Linked DNA regions of Homo sapiens: all the other regions are linked to region 3. The links are contacts of gene promoters, found by promoter capture Hi-C in blood cells and fetal thymus (Javierre and others, 2016). All regions are on one chromosome and are shown on one strand. Each heading gives the region's core, a stretch centred on a gene start or on the middle of the fragment in contact. The rest is flanking DNA. Distances are from core to core; before and after follow the strand shown. Region 1 overlaps LOC105378404 (a long non-coding RNA gene). Region 2 has its middle 56 kb from the start of GRID1-AS1. Region 3 holds the start of GRID1 (glutamate ionotropic receptor delta type subunit 1).

Region 1 (4,653 bases), core at 924-3,423, 800 kb before region 3:
AATAAAACATTTCAAATAAAATTCAACCCCATAAGTAATTGAACATTAAACCTCCAAGAACATATTCTCTTATCTCTGGCAAGAGTTTAAAATTAGTCTGCCCTTGCTTATACTTTTATGCTCCTCCTACATATGTATTTGTGCAGAAACAATATACAGTATTATTTTATATGTTTAAAGCTTTCTAAAAAAGATATCATACTGCATGAATCCTTTTGCAACCAGCTTGATTTATTTAACTTTGTGTTTTTGAGTTTTCTCTCTGTTGTTGTTTGTACATCCAGTATGTTTATTTGACTGTACAGTATTTCATTGTGTGAATATACTACCTAGTACTTTCCTTGTCATCATGGGCAGATCATTTCAATTTTTTGACATTACAAGTCATTTTGAAATGAGCATTTTTGTATATGTCTTCTTGTTCACATGTGTATGAATTCACCTATGGTATAATACTAAATCTGAAATTCCTATAACAGTAGTGTTTGCATTTATCTAGATATTGTCAAATGATTCTCCAAAGTGGTGACTCCAATTATATTCTCACTGCTACCGCATGGATGTACCTGCGGTACATCCTTTTTCTTTACTGACATCTCTGCTAACATGTGGCACATTCAGATAATATTGTTAGTTGTTGCCTTATAAAATTTATTTATCTGATGAATACGAGAAGTCTTCTGAGGTTGAGAATCTTAACATGTATTTATTTACTCTTTGGGGTTTACTTCTTCATATCTTTTTTTTTGTTTTTCAATTTTCATCTATTTTCTTATTGATTTATAGTAATTCTATATACACTACTGAATGCTAATTCTTTGTCAGTTTTGTGCACAGCAAATATGCTTCCTGATCTGTGGGTTATCTTTTCCATTTGTTTGTATTTTTGATGCAGAATATTTTTAATTAAAAGTTTGAAATCCATCTTTTCTTTATGTTCACGTGGTTCTTGATGTATTTGAAAAAGCATTCTCCAATATCGAGGTCATAAAGATATTTGCTATATTTTCTGCTAAACATTTTAAAATTTTACTTTTTACAATTACATCTTTAACCGACTGGAATTGATCTGTTTTTACAGTATAAAGATGGGATTCAATTTTTTTTTCATATGGATAAGCTACTATGTCAGAACCTTTTACTGGAATGATCCCTTCTTCCCAACTGCTTTGTAATGCCAGCTCTGTTGCACGTCAATTTTCCATCTGATCAATATGTTTTCATTGTCTACCATGTATTCAACTGTGTTCTAAGCACTAGTTACGTATCAGTAACAAAATAATTACACCTGATTCTCATTCTGCATTTCCATCCTGTTTCTTAGAGTTGATATCACTATGTCTAAAACACTGTTTAATGACTATAAGGTTTATTTGGTCATGTTATCTAATAAAAAAGTTCCTCTCCTCTTATTCCTCTTTTTTTCAAATTATTCTGCCATTCTTGCTGCTCTTATCAAAATACACATATACCTAAAATATTAATATATATGAGTACAAATATAATTTCTATAACAAACCTGTGTCTTAGGTTGCTTTCCCCAAAAGCAGAGCCTGAGAAGAATTCTTGTTGAAGTGCTTCTCTTAAGAAAAGAAGAATGAGAGAAGCAAGAAGCAAGGTAGATGGAATACTATCCAGCTGTAAAAAAGAATGAAATCATGTCCTTTGCAGCAACATGGATGTAGCTGGAGGTCATTATCCTAAGCAAATTATTAACACAGTGACAGAAAACCAAAATACAGCATGTTCTCACTTATAAGTATGAGCTAAATATTGGGTACTCATGGACATAGACTTGGGAACAATAGACACTGGGGACTACTAGAGGAGGGAGGTAGAAGTGGGGGCAAGGGGCAAAAAACCAATTGTTGTGTACTTTGCTCACTAACTGGTGACAGGATCATTGGTACCACAAACCTCAGCATCACACAATATACCCCTGTAACAAATCTGCACATGTACTCCCTGAATATAAAATAAAAGTTGAAATTATTGTTTTAAAGAAGCAAGGTAGGGGTATCTCTCATACAGCTAAGGGCAATAATTCAGTAAAGGGGATTATCGGGGGTCTTACCAGTCAACATTCACGGCAGCTAGGGGATGTGGTGGGGCACCTGCATTATCCACCATAATCTGTAGCACTATTTTTTAAGAATAAAAATATGCTCCAAAACATGTAGATTTTACACACTATGGATAACCTGATGGGAGAGAGATGGAGTTAGAAATAGGTGAAAATTAAAAAAAAAAAAAACTAAAAGAATTTTCCTCTAGATTGTTGAATGATGAAGTTCTATTGCCCATTTCTGTATCTGTGACACAATAAAATATTGATATAAATAAATACGTAGTGATGAAAAAAATACACAATTCCATCCCCAAACACACTCTTACCCTTTAAAAACACTGCTTTGCCAAAACTGAGAAAGCCTTGTGAATAGCTATGGTCTATAATTTAGGAGGTTTTTGTTGAGCTTTTGTAAGTCTCTACTAATGAGTCAGTGTTCAGCCACTGTTCAGTTGTAGCTTTTAATTGCAAACTTTGGGACACTCTAAATTAGGGGTATATGAAGCCAAATTCACTAAAACCCAATGCATGCTGATGGGCTTAGTTATTTTTTCCCAGTGTGGACTTATGCTCAGCCTCAACTCTTACGTATATTTGCATTGTGAAGAAGAAAAAATTTTGCATTTTGATTTATTGATGCTTAAGTCCAAGGCACATTGTTTGCTAAGGCTTGCCTGATATTGAGGCTGTCTCAGGAGTAGTATTTTTATATGCTTGCTATCTTGCAAACAGAATAAAATTTATGTTACACAGTTTAACCATTTTGTCTTGTTTCCTGATCATCCAAATGCATAGTTACCTTACTATAATATCCAGGCTAATATTGTTATCCTCACTACCTCACTTGAAACACACAAATCAGACTCCAGTCTAACTTTTATAAAGGTAGACTAGAATCAGGAGTCCAACAATATTGTGGAAGCAGTTAGCATACATCTCTATCACAATGCAGCATCCAGTATCCAGTACACAACATACTGCAATATCCAATGCAGTATTTTAATGTCTAAAAGAAAAGGAAATCTAGAAACCATGAGTAAAATTAATGAAACAATAAGCCCTATAGATGTCTCTGTAGAAGTCTGGTGTGATAGCATGAAAGACTCAGACCTCAGAGGGAAGGGCTGGGGGTCTTGGTGCTGCCTCAGAAAGAGAACACTTAGCTTTTGGCTTGAATTTACCAGAGGATGAGCTGAGCAGCTCTGCTCAGAATCAGAATCATAGAAGGATTGTACCTAAGTGATAGGAAGAAGAGAATACTTACACTCTCTCCCCAGGACAATGAGAAATGAAAAGTAAACATGCTTCTGCCTAGGGCTTTGGGTGGGTAAAAATGTCTTCTATATCTCCTGTGGAATTAAACTCATAAACTGCTTCATGTATGCAAATGAAATCAAAAGTTTGTCTAATCCTATGAATAAAAAATAATTCACAAATAAAAAAAGGTTAAATCTAGCTCCAAACTGTTGAAACTCGTAGGCTATCTAATAAAAATAAATCAAAGCTATTCATATTAACAATTATAAAAATTAGAATATATAATATTTCTATAGACAAAAATAGCCTCTGCTGAAGATGTGCTTACATAAAATAAGATAATAATCTACCATGAGAGTCAGAAGACATAACAAACTGAAAATTAAATCGAAAAAGGAAGCACAAAGGAAGTATATGAAGAAAATCAATATGAGATCAAATTAATTAAATAAAAAACAAAATATGATCAAGAGGATTGACAACAAAAATTTATACTTTAAATAGAATTCAAAATTGATTTAAAAATTTGTTAATGCTAATGAATAGAAAAAAGAGAGGACAAATTTCCAAAATCAGAAATAAAAAATAAAAAGACATCAAATTTAAAAATAAAGGATATTATGGTCAACTTTTGGAAAATAAATGTAAAAATTTGAATAAAATCAAAAAGTCTTAAAAAATTATTACAACTGACCTAAGATCAAAGAAAACATAAATTGTCCTTTCTCTATTAAAAAACTGCATTCTTAAAAAAACACATAAAAACCTCTTCACAAATAAAAGAGCAGTTTCAGATGGCTTCAAAGCACAAGATTGGCAAACTTTAATAAAAGAATAACACCAAGCTTATAAAAATATTTCTAAAGAAGTAAAAAAAGTCAGAGCACTGACTATTTTATTTTAAGAAACCAGAGTTAACATGGTATTTAAACATGATGAAGGAATTATAAGAAAAGAAATGTACTGGACAATCCACGTATAAAAAAAATGAAAACTCTTAAAGATAATATTTGTTAAAAAGTCAGTAATACATACAAATTATAACATACTACGTCCAATTTAGGTTTATTTCTGGATTGCAATTTGCTTCAGTTTTCAAAAATTAATCAACATAATATATCTTGTTAATGGAATAAGGGATAAAAGTTTATTATCTCAATAAATACCTAAGTATAATTTGATAAAATTCAACCTCTATTGATGACAAAAATTAAAAAGAATTTGAAAATCTAGAATACAAGATTTTTCTTAATCTTTTAAAAAAAATCATCTGGTGTTTTAGCAACCAGAATGTTAACTCTCGTGTGTCCAATCAATTTTATACTGAT
Region 2 (4,760 bases), core at 1,527-4,026, 850 kb before region 3:
ATCTCTGAATAGACCAATAACAGGCTCTGAAATTGTGGCAATAATCAATAGCTTACCAACCAAAAAGAGTCCAGGACCAGATGGATTCACAGCTGAATTCTACCAGAGGTACAAGGAGGAACTGGTACCATTCTTTCTGAAACTATTCCAATCAATAGAAAAGGAGGGAATCCTCCCTAACTCATTTGATGAGGCCAGCATCATCCTGATACCAAAGCTGGGCAGAGACACAACCAAAAAAGAGAATTTTAGACCAATATCCTTGATGAACATTGATGCAAAAATCCTCAATAAAATGCTGGCAAACCAAATCCAGCAGCACATCAAAAAGCTTATCCACCATGATCAAGTGGGCTTCATCCCTGGGACGCAAGGCTGGTTCAATATATGCAAATCAATAAATGTAATCCAGCATATAAACAGAACCAAAGACAAAAACCACATGATTATCTCAATAGAAGCAGAAAAGGCCTTTGACAAAATTCAACAACCCTTCATGCTAAAAACCCTCAATAAATTAGGTATTGATGGGACGTATCTCAAAATAATAAGAGCTATCTATGACAAACCCACTGCCAATATCATACTGAATGGGCAAAAACTGGAAGCATTCCCTTTGAAAATTGGCACAAGACAGGGATGCCCTCTCTCACCACTCCTATTCAACATAGTGTTGGAAGTTCTGGCCAGGGCAATTAGGCAGGAGAAGGAAATAAAGGGCATTCAATTAGGAAAAGAGGAAGTCAAATTGTCCCTGTTTGCAGATGACATGATTGTATATCTAGAAAACCCCATTGTCTCAGCCCAAAATCTCCTTAAGCTGATAAGCAACTTCAGCAAAGTCTCAGGATACAAAATCAATGTACAAAAATCACAAGCATTCTTATACACCAATAACAGAGAAACAGAGAGCCAAATCATGAGTGAACTCCCATTCACAATTGCTTCAAAGAGAATAAAATACCTAGGAATCCAACTTACGAGGGACGTGAAGGACCTCTTGCTATTTGTTTTCCATTTTTGTCTTTTGTTTTTGTTCTTCTGTTGATGTTTTCTTGCTTTTTTTTGGGGGGGGGGTTGGAGGTGGGTGATACTCGAACACAATCACATATTTTATGTCGTCTATTAACTTCTCATCAATATCTCTTTCATTATTTTTTATAGTTGCTCTAGGGCTAATAATCTGTACTTAATTTCCAGTAGCCAGACAGATTAATGTTTCCACTTCACACCTGACACTTTCCTCTTCTGATGCTTCCACTTTCCACTATGCTCTTCACACCTCCCACTTATCACTTTTCAAATGTAATAATTAAAAAGCAGTAAAGTTATATGTACATAACCCCTTTCTTTAGTGCTATTGTGCCACTTTTTATTTCTACACCATAATCCTACTTTATGATGTTAATATTTTGTGGTAAACAGTTATTATTTATAGAAATTATAAGCAGCAAAATGAATAGCTTTTTATGTGTAACTACTTCTTTTCAATTTTTGTTGCTTTCTTTTGCTTCCTAGATATCTGAATTTCCGTCTGATATCATTTTTCTTCAACCTTAAGAACATTTTGAATTTCTTCCATTGCAAGTCTGCTAGTAGCAAATTCTCTCAGTTTTATTTATCAGATGTCTTTATTAGCCCTTCATTTTTAGATGTTATTTTTAGTTTGTATAGAATTCTGAGTTGACTGACACCACCACCACCCCAGCACATTAAGGATGTCATTGCATTGTACCCTGGCCTGCTCTCTTCCTGATGAGAAGTTATTGGTCATTCTCCTCTTTGCTTTCCTGTATATAATGTGACTTTTTTTCACTGGATACTTTAAATATCTTCTCTTTCTCTTAGGTTTTCAGTAGGTTGACTATAATACACCTTGAAGCAGTTTTCTCTGTATTTATTCTGCTAGGAGTTCATTAAGCTTCTTATATCTGTAAGTCAATGTTTCTCATCACAGTTTGTAACTTTTCAGTTATTGTATTTCAAGCATTTTTGTATCATTATTCATCTAGTCTCCTTATAGAAATCCTATTTACACACATCAGACCATATTATATTGACTCACATAACCCTGAGGCTCTGTTGATAGTTTTTTCTACCTTTATTTTATCTCTTCTTTGGATTAGATTATTTCTTTAGATTTTGAGTCAAGTTTGATTCCTCAATTTTTCTCTACCTTCAATCTGCTGATCTGACCATGCAATAAATTTTTCCTGCAATGAATTCCTAAATGTGTATTTTGTTATTTGTCATAGTTTCCATTCCTCTTAGGTGATTTCTGAATGCCTTATTCATTAATATAATATTTTATTTTATTCCTTAAACATATTTCTTTATGTTCTTCCAGCACTTTATAGTAGCTGTTTTACATTGTGTGTGTGTGTGTGTGTGTGTGTGTGTGTGTGTGTGTGTGTGTGTGTTTCTGCTAAGTCCATATTAAAGACCATCTTGTGGTCAATCTCTATTGACTTTTTTCCCCCATGACTAGTTTTATCTATGTTCAGCAATTTTTGATTTCCTACTAGACATTGCTGTGTAGAGTTGTATGGACTTTGGATTCTGTCATCTTTTTCTAAAGAGTGTTGGCTTTTGTTCTAGTAAGTAGTTTACTTCTTGCTCACCTTGCAACTGAGTAAGTTTTCTTACATCTTATTATGGAAGATCTGTTGAAAAGCAGTTCTGTTTTCATGTCCTCTTTAACATGGCAAGATTCAACTTCCAAACACTGTCTCTTTTTCAGAATCTTGTTAAAGTTTGTTTTCAGACTTTTTAAAGAGAAATAAAATAAAACTTACTAAAAATTTAATCTTTCCTTATAAGGAGTAGTAGTCCATTCTCACACTGCTAATAAAGACATACTTGAGACTGAGTAATTTATAAAGGAAAGAGGTTTAATGGACTCACAGTTCTACATGGCTGGGGAGGCCTCACAATCATAGTGGAAGGCAAAGGAAGAGCAAAGGCACGTCTTACATCGCAGCAGGCAAGAGAGCATGTGCAGGGGAACTGCCCTTTATAAAACCATCAGATCTCATAAGACTTATTCACTATCCTGAGAACAGAAAGTGGAAAACCTGCCCCCATGATTCAGTTACCTCCCACCAGGTCCTACCCAGGATATGTGGGGATTACGGGAGCTACAATTCAAGATGAGATTGGGGTGGGGGGAAACAGCCAAACCATATCATAAGGGAAAGCCTAAAGATGTCTTAAGTGGATATCTCCAACATCCCTGAGCACTGCTTGAGCTCTAGTATCTGTTCCGTTCTCCATCCTATAACAGCTACATCTTCTAAGTTTCTCATTAAACTTGTACAGCCCTGGGTCCTTGTCAAGGACTCATGGAGACTCATGAGGAAACCTCTGTCCAGCTCTCTATCCTCTAGTGCCTGCCTATTAAATTCCAGCAACTTTGGTTTTCTCAAACCCTAATATCTACCTCCTCTGATCAGTGATGCTGCTGTTCTTTGCTTGGACTCCAGCTCACTACACAGCCATCAGAAAACTGTCCCCCAGGCAGAAACCTGAGGCCATGATGGGGATTACCGAATGAATTGCCCTTTTTTCCCAGTAACTGCCATACTGTTTTCAATAATGGTTGTGCCATTTCACACCCCTGCTAGTAGCAAACAAAGCTTTCAATTCTCCACATGACTTACCAACATTTTTTCAATTAAGTGAACATTTTAACTATGTTCATTATATCTTTCCCCTCCATTGCTTAAAATTCTTTGGCAATTTCCTACTGTACTCAGCAAAAGAACTAGACATTGACTATCAGGTCTTGGTCAAGCCCCTATCTGCCTCTCCAGCTATGGGATTTTATGAGGCTTCCTAGAACCTGGAAACTTTTTACCTCAGAATATTTGCACCGCCAGATTTTTGGATTTCAACTTCCTCAACTTTTCATGTAACTATTTCAATTAAAACTTTGAAATCTGATACAAAGTAAGATGATGTCAATGTTATTGAATATTCATCTGGAAGTGGAACTCAGTGTTATCAAGATCAAAAATAAGAGTTGTAAATATTAGAAAGAAGGAAGTGGCCAGGCCCAGTGGCTCATGCCTGTAATCCCAGCACTTTGGGAGGCTGAGGCAGGTGGATCACCTGAGGTCAGGAGTTAGAGACCAGCCTGGCCAACATGGTGAAACTCTGTCTCTACTAAAAATACAAAAATTAGCCCGACGTGGTCATGGGAGCCTGTAATCCCAGCTACTGGGGAGGCTGAGGCAAGAGAATCACTTGAACCCGGGAGGTGGAGGTTGCAGTGAGCTGAGATAGTGTCACTGCACTCCAGCCTGGGCGACAGAGCAAGACTCCATCTCAAAAAAAAAAAAAAAAAAAAAAAAGAAGGAAGAATGCTAACCAACATTACTTTACAGTGGGATGGGATTAACTTACCCCCTTTTTCTTAGAAAAATAGGTTAATAATCAAGATTCTATGCTCTGAAGTTAGCACTTTGGTTAAAATCCTGGTGTGCCACTTACTTGCCCTGCCACATTGGTAACTCAATCACTCCAAGTCTCAATGGCAATAAAATGTGTAATTTACTTTGCTCAGGGCCTAGCAACCAAGTAGGAATTTAGTAAATGTGAACTATTATCTTTTTGAATAATGTTTCTAGTATAAGCTTTTGTTTTGTGTATAAGAAGAAAGCCTATTAAAAACAAATATGCCAAAACAAAGAACGCAGACTGAATGATCTTATATTTTAATCTTGTCTGCTATAATCTTGTCTGCTGCAATCTGCCGTCTC
Region 3 (4,536 bases), core at 612-3,111:
GCCGAGATCAGTGCGACCAGCCCGAGCCTAGTCCTGCAACCTGGACAGCTCTGGAGTCAGCCACCCACATCCCGCCTCACCAAGCCTCGAGGGTCCCTGAGGTCCCGGAGCTAGGCCCAGTGATCCCTCGAGCTGGGGGCTGGGTAGGAGGAGGGAGGCCCGGATTCCTCACTACACCCGGAGCCGGCGCCGCAATGCTGACCGCGAGACCCGCACCCCTCCAGGGCGGGAAGCAGGTTTGGTCACGGGCCCCTGAGGAGGAATCGTAGCTCTCCGAGCCCAGGCCTAGTCCTCACCACCCCACTCCACCACCCACCCTCCCGCCTTGTCCCGTCCTCCTCGCCTTCAACACCTCCCAACCCCCAGTTTCCCTGTGCTCGCTGGTCTTTCCCAACTTCCGGAAAGACGACTGCGGAGGGACTCCCCCAAAGCGACCGCTGTCAGCCCCCCAACTCGGCCCAACTTCCCGAGATTCCTCCCGTGTTGCTCCCAACTCCCACCCACTCCCCCTCGGCGCGCCCACTCCCCCTCGGCGCGCCCCCTCCTCCTCTGCGCTTTCATCTTCTCTCCCGGTTCTCTCTCTCTATCCATCTCTTCCCGCTCAGCATCCCCCTACCCCCCGCTGCCCACGCTTCTTCCCTCGGCTCCCACCACCCAGACCGTCTGGGCCCCCAAGACTTGGACCACGCAAAACTCTAGGACTGTCCAGGATGGGGATGCAGTCGCCACAACCAGATACACACGCACTCACACATACACCAAGGGCTACACAGACACACACCGGAGAAGCAGGCAGACACTGTGTCCACTCTAACAGGCTGACAGACAGTCGTGCACGCACCAACACACGCTCAGATGGCCCCACACACCCCAACACCCTCTCACAGTAACACCGACACCGTGCCAGGCGCACACAGCGACACACGCTGACAACACGCACCCACACACATTCACACACGGTTCCGGTCCGGCCTCTTTGATCTTGCCCTGCCAACTTGGCGAGCCCCCCGCTGTACCTCCCCCTGCCCCCCGCTGCTCTGAGCTGCGCAGAAGGGCCCTCCCGACCCGCCGACGGCCCCGCTAAGGGCGCGGGTCTCGACGCGCGTCCATCCCGGTGTTCCCCGAAGCGTCGGCCCTAAGTGTCGGTAGAGGCCGCGGGGCCCCGCGCGGAGATCGGAGCCCCGGGGAGCGGCAAGCAGCCAGCGGGAGCGCGGCGCGGCCGGTGCACAGCTCCTCCGCCGGGCGGCGCGGCGCGGCCCTTCGGGGGAGCACCGCCCGCCGAGCCCCTCGGCCCAGGGAAACGCCAAGTTTGGACGCCGCGCACCCCCTGCCCCGTTGGGGCCCCCGCCCAGCCTCGGCCCGGCCTCCAGCCGCGCTTACCGATGTGGATGATGGAGTCGGCCCGCACCGACACGCACTGGCATATCCAGGGGAGAAGCCACAGCGTCAGCGCTTCCATGTCCCCCGGGCGCGCGGCTCATCCACCCGGGCCCGGGGCGAGGCCGAGGGCAGCGCGAAGCGGGGAGGCGCTGGTCCCGGTGCAGTCCCGGGCCGCTCCCCGGGAGAGCCGAGCCCGCCCGTGCGTCTTCCCCCGCGCGCCCGCCCCTGCGCCCTGCGCCCGCCCCAGCCCAGCCCAGCCCAGCCCAGCGCGGTCGGGCTCCCGCTCCGGCTCCGGTGGCGGCTGCGGCGGTGCTGGCAGCTTGAGCCCAGGCCGGCGCGGCGGGGGCGGCCCGCGGCTGTGGCAGCGGCGCTTCCCGCGGCTAGAGCGGCTTCGGGGGAGGCTGAGGCGGTGGCGGCGGCGGCCGGGCCGGCGTGGCGGCTCTGGGCTGGCTGTGTGTCTGAGCCCCGGCGAGGAGCGAACTGCGGAGGACGCCCCCTCCCCTCCCCCTCCCCCTCAGCTCCGCTCCCCCTCCCCTCCCTGCCCGCCTCCCTCCCCTCCGCCCGCCTCTCTACCACGTGACTGCGGAGCCTCAGCCTCGCCGCGCGGCTCTCGCCCGCTCGCGGCTCGGAGGGGGCGCCGGGTGCTCCACGCTCCCGGCTCGGGGGACGCTCGGAGACCGGCACAGCGGCGGGGACCGGCCTGGGCTGCGGCGCGCCGAGCTCTGACGGTTCGGGCCTCCTTCTCCGGTTCGCCAGGGGCGGGAGAATGGAGGAGGGCCGGCCGCTAACTGCCCTCGAGGGGCTCCCGAAGCGCCCTGGCGACCTCAGCAGCCGCGCGTCTCGGGTCATGTCCCCGGCCGAAACAGACCGTTCCTCGTGGAGTGGGACCTGGGGAGCAAGAAGAGAGACCGGGGCGGGGCGCCGGGCCAGGCCCCAGGACAGCTGGGGAGCCAGAGGGGGCCGGCCGCCGCAAGCATCTCAGAGTAGAGCCCGGGCCGTGGGCTCGAACCCTGGCTGGCCGCGCGGACCTCGGCGGGCGCCCATCCCCCGCTCCATGGGCAGCGCGCTCAGCCGGGAGTCGGGCAAGAGGCTCGGACTCTGAAGCCCAATTCATGGCCGGAAACCAGCGCAGCCGTGACCGCGGCGCCTGGACGTGAGGAGCCTTCCAAGCGGCCGGCGGGCTCAGACTCCGACCCTGCACGGAGCTTTCATGTGCGAGCCCGGGCGAAGAGCCCGCTCCTCGCGGCCACAGCGGAACAGGGCTCCCTCCGCCTCCGGTGCCTGCCTCGGGCCGGCCACCACCAAAGAGAGCGTTAAGCTGTTGTGGGCTCGTGCCTGAAAGGGACTGGGCTCCATGTGGCACCCCCAAGATTTCGAGGAGACAGCTGAGCTTCCTGGGGTCTGGGACCTGGCAGAGCCTCGTTCAAAAGCTGCTCCTCCAGCAAGCCTGGGAACGTCCCCGGGCCCTGTTGTCCGCGGAGGGGCCCCAGGACTCCCGCCACGCACCAGGGGGAGAGGCTCCCACCACAGCCCTTGCCCAGAGCTCCCAGCGCAGTGGGCGAGGCAGACACCCAACCAAGTCATCTTTTAAATGTTGGGGGGGGCTATGAATGAGCTGTGTATGCTCAGATGCCTGGGCTCTGAACCAGCCTGGGAAGAAGAGCAGGGATGACTTCCTGGAGGAGATGACAGTTGTAAAGACTGAGTGGAGGTTCCCAAGGGAGAAAATAAGGCTTCCAGGCATTGAATAGTGGTGAGCCAAGGCAAAAAGAAAGAAGTGTGTGTCTGTATGTCTGTCTGTCTCTCATGTGGCCAGAGCCAAAGAGTAAGCATTGGTAGATTTCACTTTGGAAAGAAAGATTGGAGAGGATGGGCTGTGCAGAGGGGGCCAGTGGAGGCCCATAGCACTGTGAGGGAACCCTGGGTGGGCCAGCTCAGCTGGGCAGGGACAGCCTGTTGGAGCGGAGAAGCTGGATTGCAGAAGTATCAAGGAATCCCATGAGCCAGCAAGGTGACTTCTAGGTTAAGGAGGCCAGGGGGCAAGAAGAGAGGAGTGGTCATATGTCATACTTGCCCATGGGAGTGGCTGAATGTGGTCCTACACACACACACACACACACACACACACACACACACACTTCTTCCAAAAACCTGTCTTAGGGTCCTTGAGTAGTGAAACCTGACCCACCCCGCATCTCAAAACCCTCTACACCTCTAATTCTTATTCCTGCAAAATTCTACCATTCACTGGCTGAAATGCTGTAGGGAGAAGAGAAATAAATGATGAGTTTTATTATACATCAGTTTGGTTCCTACGGGGACTGTCTCCACCTTGAAAGGATGGTGGGTGTGGTCTTGACCTGAAGTCCCTGTGGGTCAGGGACTCTCCCCGGGCCTCCTGTTGTTGGGGGTTCTCCAGTGTGTTAGTACAGTGGGCATGTGATATACCCAGTTAGAAGTTTTTCTTTGATGTATGTTTTGCTAGGTGTAGGTAGCATGATTTCAGTGGGATAAGTATTAAGACCTCCTTCCAAGTATTAAGAAGACAACCCACCAACACATAGTTGTGGAATGATTTCCATCAAGTTCCAGTTTGGATGATGAGGTGGGTGATGAGGTTCCTGTGGCTTGGCATCTGAGGATCATGACTCAAGGTGGATCTCATCTGGAAGTTGTTGACCTGGGGCAACCTCACCTTCTGTCCTGGGTGCCTCCTTCCTCTCCAGCTTCCAGGGCGTGTGGTAGTCTGCCATCCCCATATGCTCATTCCCAGATCCTCACCCTGGGACAGTCCACTCAGCCAAGCCAGTTTTCCTATCCAGGCTAGAATCCCCTGGACACTGTAGGCAGCGTGGTGACTGTAGGCACTTGCTCAGCTCCTGTTCCTCACAGAGCTGGAAGGCAGGCCCAGAGACCACTGGGGACCTGTACAGACTCACCTTGAGGCAAAATGTGTTTAATCCTCTGCCACCTAAAGTTGGAGTTGCCAGGTTCCAGGGGCATTGGATGTTATTGGTCAGTTGCTCAGACTCATCAAGCCCTTAACAGTTTATTGCTCCTGGCCCAGCTATTCTTGGCCCAACACCCTTATCCCTGATAGCCTCTGGGGCTGCAAATGCTGCCTCTCCAAACCAGGGGAAGCAACTCTACCCAATG

Evidence for each region. The method cuts DNA at HindIII sites, captures the fragments that hold promoters and counts their contacts. A CHiCAGO score of 5 or more calls a contact.
Region 1: a contact is called between a fragment that was not itself captured here and the fragment with the promoter of GRID1 in region 3, in 1 of 17 cell types (total CD4 T cells). The highest score is 5.0, in total CD4 T cells.
Region 2: a fragment that was not itself captured here is called in contact with the fragment with the promoter of GRID1 in region 3 in 1 of 17 cell types (activated CD4 T cells); the score reaches 5.1 in activated CD4 T cells.

What each region holds. Positions count from the first base shown.
Region 1 is chr10:85,559,684-85,564,336 of GRCh38, forward strand. It overlaps LOC105378404 (a long non-coding RNA gene), which reads right to left. Exons shown (of 6, transcript XR_946157.3): 2 at 2,075-2,201; 3 at 1,520-1,638. Among named protein-coding and RNA genes, the nearest start is that of GRID1-AS1, 16 kb to the right of the region's middle. The HindIII fragment of the contact is 3,990 bases long and covers 179-4,168 here.
Region 2 is chr10:85,519,013-85,523,772 of GRCh38, forward strand. No RefSeq gene overlaps it. Among named protein-coding and RNA genes, the nearest start is that of GRID1-AS1, 56 kb to the right of the region's middle. The HindIII fragment of the contact is 1,714 bases long and covers 1,920-3,633 here.
Region 3 is chr10:86,364,934-86,369,469 of GRCh38, forward strand. It overlaps GRID1 (glutamate ionotropic receptor delta type subunit 1), which reads right to left and starts at 1,862. Exons shown (of 16, transcript NM_017551.3): 1 at 1,381-1,862. The coding sequence starts at 1,459. RefSeq lists silencers at 1,171-1,320, 1,351-1,550, 1,781-1,830, 1,851-2,240, 2,351-2,560. The HindIII fragment of the contact is 11,562 bases long and covers 1-4,536 here.